Linked DNA regions of Homo sapiens: region 1 is linked to region 2. Evidence: promoter capture Hi-C in 16 types of primary human blood cells and fetal thymus (Javierre and others, 2016). All regions are on one chromosome and are shown on one strand. The core of a region is centred on a gene start or on the middle of the fragment in contact, and the rest is flanking DNA. Distances in the headings are between cores, read along the strand shown. Region 1 has its middle 16 kb from the start of HSDL2. Region 2 holds the start of PTGR1 (prostaglandin reductase 1).

What was found. The method cuts DNA at HindIII sites, captures the fragments that hold promoters and counts their contacts. A CHiCAGO score of 5 or more calls a contact.
Region 1: a fragment that was not itself captured here is called in contact with the fragment with the promoter of PTGR1 in region 2 in 1 of 17 cell types (naive CD8 T cells); the score reaches 5.0 in naive CD8 T cells.

What each region holds. Positions count from the first base shown.
Region 1 is chr9:112,362,205-112,365,016 of GRCh38, forward strand. It overlaps a transcript of PTBP3 not described here and the pseudogene RPL32P22. Among named protein-coding and RNA genes, the nearest start is that of HSDL2, 16 kb to the right of the region's middle. The HindIII fragment of the contact is 5,583 bases long and covers 1-2,812 here.
Region 2 is chr9:111,598,376-111,601,217 of GRCh38, forward strand. PTGR1 (prostaglandin reductase 1) reads right to left here and starts at 1,272. Exons shown (of 10, transcript NM_001146108.2): 1 at 1,228-1,272. RefSeq lists an enhancer at 1,123-1,695. The HindIII fragment of the contact is 792 bases long and covers 986-1,777 here.

The sequences.
Region 1 (2,812 bases), core at 306-2,805, 760 kb after region 2:
TCAGGAGGCTGAGAGGGGAGGATAACTGAGAGGGAGAGGTTGAGGCTGCAGTGAGCCATGGTTGCACCTGAGCAACAAAGTAAGACCCTGTCTAGCAAAAGGAAAAGAAAAAATATCTATTCAAATCGTTGCCCATTTTTTAGTTGGGTTGTTCATTTTTCTGTAGCTGTTGTAAGAATTCTGTGTATATATTGGACACTGGAGCCTTATCAGGTATATGATTTATAAGTATTTTTTCTCATTCTCTAGGTTGTCTTTTCACTTTCTTGATAGTGTCCTGGGATGCACAAATTAATTATTTTAATTCTTATGAAGTTCAATGTATCTTCTTTTTTTTCCCTTCTGTGGCTTGTGCTTTTGGTGTCATATTTAAGAATCCATTGTCAAATCCAAGGTCATGAAGATTTACCCTTATGTTTTCTTTCAAGAGCTTTATAATTTTAGCTCCTACATTTAAGGTCTTTGATCCATTTGGGGTTGATTTTTAGAGCCATCTCTTACTCACCATCATGGCCACCATCAGACCCCTCATGAAGCCCAAGATCATCAAAAAGAGGAGCAAGAAGTTCATTCACCACCAGTCAGAACAATATGTCAAAATTAAGCATAACCGGTGGAAACCCAGAGACAACTGCGTTCATAGAAGATTCAAGGGCCAGATCTTGATGCCCAACATTGGTTATAGAGAAGCAATGAAAACACAAAGCACATGCTGCCCAGCGGCTTCTGGAAGTTTCTGGTACGCATTGTCAAGGACTTGGAAGGGCTGCTGACATGCAGAAAATCTTACTGTCCTGAGATAGCTCACAATGTGTCCTCTGGAACTGCAAAGCCATCATGGAAAGGGCAGCCCAGCTGGCCATCAGAGTCACCAGTCGCAATGCCAGGCAGCACAGCAAAGAAAGGGAATAGACAGCTCATGTGCATGTTTTGTGTTGAAATAAAACCATAAAAACTGTGAAAAATTAATTTTCATATAATTTTTGAGATGGAGTCAGGGGGTGGGTCCAAACTCATTCTTTTATGAATAAGAATATCTAGTTAATACGAATATCTGGGGCTGGGCTTGGTAGCACACGCTTGTGATCTCAGAACTTTGGGAATCTGAGGAGGGCAGATCTCTAGAGCCCAGGAGTTCAAGCCCAGCCTGGGCAACATGGTGAGACCTGTCTCTACAAAAAATACCAGCCTGTAGTCCCAGTTACTCGGGAGGCTGAAGTGGGCCGACTGCATGAGCCCAGGAGGTTGAGGCTGCAGTGAGCCAAGATCCACACACCAATGCACCTCAGCCTGGGCTACAGAGCAAAACTGTCACACACACACACACACACACACACACACACACACACACACACAAAGGCTATTCTTGACCTATTAGTCTTGGTATGCTTGCTGAAAATCAATAGAGCATAAGTGTATCAGTTTATTTATTCTATTAATTGATCTATATGTCTATCCCTATGCCAATACCACATGGTTTTTGCTTTTGTTTTGTAATTATTAGACTTGATTTTTTAGAAGAGTGCTAGATTCACAGAAAAATTGAGCAAAAAGTACTGAGAGTTTCCACATACTCCCTCCTCCACCATTAACAGCCCCAGTTGGTATGGTAAATTTGATATAATCAATAAACCAACATTGACATATCATTATCAACCAAAATCCATAGGGTTCACTCTGTGTTGTACCTTCTGTGAATTTTGACAAATATATAATGACATATCTGTAACATTATGGTATCATACAGAATAGTTTTACTGCCCTAAAAATCTTCTGATCTCTGCCTATTGATCCCTCCCTCCTCACTAACTACCGGCAAACACTGATCCTTTTTACTGTCTCCATAGTTTTGCCTCTTCAGAATGTCATATATTTGGAATCATACAGTGTGTACCCTTTCCAGACTGGCTTCTTTCGCTTAGTAATATGCATTTAACTTTCCTCCATGTCACTGTGGCTTGCTAGGTCAGTTCTTTTTTTTTTTTTTTTTTTTTTTTTTTTTGAGACAGGGTCTCACAGTAGCAAGATCTTTAAAAACAGGCAATAAAAGTTTAATTTGATAAGAGAATTTCAAGAAGACAAAAAAAAAGCCCTAGTTATTTGCAAAGCAGAAGAAAAGCAAAAGAGCATACTAACCTTTTATAAGTATTTTGGTAAAGAAAAGTACCAGGGGGCCAGGCACCATGGCTCATGCCTGTAATCCCAGCACTTTGGGAAACCGAGGTGTGTGGATCATTTGAGCCAGGAGTTCAAGACCAGCTTGGGCAACACAGCAAGACCCTGTCTTTACAAAAACTATAAGCCTGTAGAACCAGCTACTCGTGAGGCTGAGGTGGAAGGATAGCTTGAGCCTAGGCGTCTAAGGCTGCAGTGAGCTATGATCACGCCACTGTACTCTAGCCTGTGCAACAGGGCAAGACCCTGTCTCTATTTTTAAAAAATTAAGAAATTTAAAAAAGAAATATTGTGAGAATTAGGAAAATATGACAGAGACACAAAGTGAGGACACATTATTGGAAAAATGGCACCAATTGACTTGCGTGACACAGGGTTGACAGAAATATTCAATTTGTAAAAAATGCATTATCTGTGAAGTACAATAAAGTGAAGCTCCATAAAACAAGGCATACTTACATACATTACCACTAACTAAGTCACTATGTTGTATATTAGATTTCCAGAACTTACTGACCCTATCTAACAGTTTCAGTACCGTGTAATCTACATATCTCCATTCCTCCACCCCCACCACAACCCAGCCTCTGGCAGCCACCCTTCTATTTGCTGCTTCTACGTGTTCAACATTTTTAGA
Region 2 (2,842 bases), core at 22-2,521:
TCCCCTACCGGTGCCGCGGGAGGGGACACGGTGACCTGGAGGGAGCACTCCCGCATTGCGAGGGAGCCAGGGGGGCGGTCTGATCTGCAGCCCGGGGTTGTTCCTTCTTTTCTTTTTTTAAAATTAAGACTTTTTTTGTGACGGAGTCTCGCTCTGTCGCCCAGGCTGAAGTGCAATGGCGCGATCTCAGCTCACTGCAACCTCCGTCTCCCGGGTTCAAGCGGTTCTCCTGTCTCAGCCTCCTGAGTAGCTGGGATTACAGGCGCCCGCCACCACGCCCAGCTAATTTTTGTACTTTTAGTAGAGACGGGGTTTCCCCATGTTGGCCAGACTGGTCTAGAACTCCTGAGCTCAAATGATTCGCCCGCCTCGACCTTCCATAGTGCTGGGATTACAGGCGTGAGCCACCGCGCCAGGCCCTACGTATCATTTTTACGGTGAGACATTTGCAGTTTACTCTGTTATTTCGAAATACACATTATTGGCTCTAGTCACTCTGCTGTGCAACAGATCTCAGAACCTACTCCTCTCGTCTCTGAACTTCGTACCCTTTGGCCAACAAGCCCCCATTCCCCCCCGAACCCGCTCCCAGCCTCTGGCAACCATCATTCTAGTCGTTATTTCTATGAGTTCAACTTCTTTAGAGTTCACACATCTTTGTCCCTTTCCCCAAAAAAGCAACCGCTGGGCTTCCAAACTCGCTACAAGTCCAGAAGCCCTCCTGGAAAGGGTCTGGCCGCAGAGGGGCCAGGTCCCGGGAAAGTCTCGCCCGCCCGAGGAGGGGGCCTGGCGCGGCGCCCGGCCTTTGCCCGCTCGCCCTTTGCTCCCACCCTCGCCTCCCGCCGCCCGCCGCCCGCTTGCCCATTCCCGAATCCCCACCCCGATCTTTCTTCTTCTACCCTCCCCCAGTTGTGCAGTCCAGCAAGTTCCCTGGCCAGCCCCCTCCCGGGTGCAGGAAGCTACCGGGTGTCCCGGGTTGTAACCAAGCTTTCCTATTCCCTCCGGCGCGCGGCTCCAAGCTCTCCAAGGAACTGCGGGGGCGGGAGGCGTCGGGACGTCGGCTCCCAAGATCCTCCGAGTGCAAGACCCAGCGGTCATTTCGACGTAAGGGGAGGAGGTCTAAGAGCAAACCTCCTCCACTGGGGCGTCTAGAAACTTGGCAGGAAGAAAGCAAGGGGGTTAGAGGAGGGAGAAAAGGGAAGGAAAGAAAGCAGGAGGTCTACTTACAGGAGCCCGAAGGTTCCACTGCCTGGGGAAGGCGGCTGGGACTGCGCAGCCGGGCGCCCGGGGTCCGACTTATGACAGGTCCCAAGAGAGGGTGGGGCCACCCCAGGGCGGGGCTGCTTCTTTAGGGTGAGAGCCCGGCCCCGAAAGGGTCACAGGAGGAAAACCAGGGTCCGGGAAATCTGAGTGCGTTTGTGTGTGTGTGTGCGCGTATCTCTGTGTGCCTATGTGCATGTGCGCGCGCGTATGTGTGCATGTGTGCGTGTGTGTGCGTGCGCGCCCGCGCGCCCGTGTGTGTGCGTGTAGGGGGTTAGGGACTCCTGATAGGAAAATTCCTAACAGAGCTTTGTCCAGCTGACACTGGACCTCCGCCTGGGGTCCTAAGTTGGAGCCCGGCGGAAATATGCCCCGTGGGGGAACCAACCGTGGCATCTGCCAAGCAGGCCGGAAGGGTCCAAAGGCAGGGCCTGGGGCGGCCGCAGCCCTAATAAGCCCCCGGTGCTGGCTCCGATCCCTGGGCTCCCCGTCAGCCCTGCCGCTTGCCCGCAGTGCAAGCTTTCGCCCAGGGCTGCGGTGCAGACACCCTGCCTGTCTGTCCCCAGTCCGCCTGCTGAACACCTACTCGCCTTCCACCAGCCAATTCAAGGTCACCTCTGTGAACCCTTGCCAGACTCCCCCAGGCAGGAGTGAGCACTCTTGCCACTGAGGCACCCCACCCATCACACCCTAGCAAACATCAGGCCTTGACCTGGCTTCTGCAAGGAGAGGTGGTCTCAGGCAGGGGTTGAACGTGAAGCTAAGTCGTTGGTATTAGACGACTGCAGGTTCGAAGCCTGCACCTGCCACTTACTAGTGGTGTAGCTTTCAAAGACTTACTTACCTTCTCCTTGCCTCACTCAGTTCAGCCATCTGCAAGATGGGGATAAGAAGAATGCCTAACTTCCAGTCATTGTGAAGATTCAATGTCTTTAATTTATTTATTTAATTTTAATTATTTTGAGGTCTTGCTCTGTCACCCAGGCTGGAGTGCAATGGTGGGCATCATAGCTCATTGCAGCCTTGAACTCCTGGACTCAGGTGATCCTCCTTCAGCCTCCCTAGAAGCTGGGATTACAGGCCCACCACCACACCTGGCTCAATGTCTCTCCTTGTAAGGATACCCGCCATATTGGATTAGAGCCCCACTTGTCAGCCTCCGTTTAACTTAAACACGTCTTTGAAGGCCTTGTCTTCAAATACTGTCAAATGGATTAGGGCTCACTAATATGGCCTCATGTAACCTTAATTACCTCTTTAAAGGCCCTATCTACAAATACAGTTACATTCTGAGTACTGGGACTTGGGGATTTTAACACATGAAATTGGGGAAGACACAGTTCAGCCCATAACAGAGTGTGTGGACCAAGCGTGGTGGACGCATGCCACAGGATATACACAGCATCAGAAGCACTGGGTTCCATGTACATAAAGCAACTTGGATGGACCCTAAAAACACAATGCCGAGAGTTGAATTCTTCACACTAATCAGAGTTGGTGGCACTTTATCCCCACTGGTCTGCCAAATTCTTTCTTTCTCACTCTCTCCCTTCTCATTAATTTATGTAACTTAATATAAAAC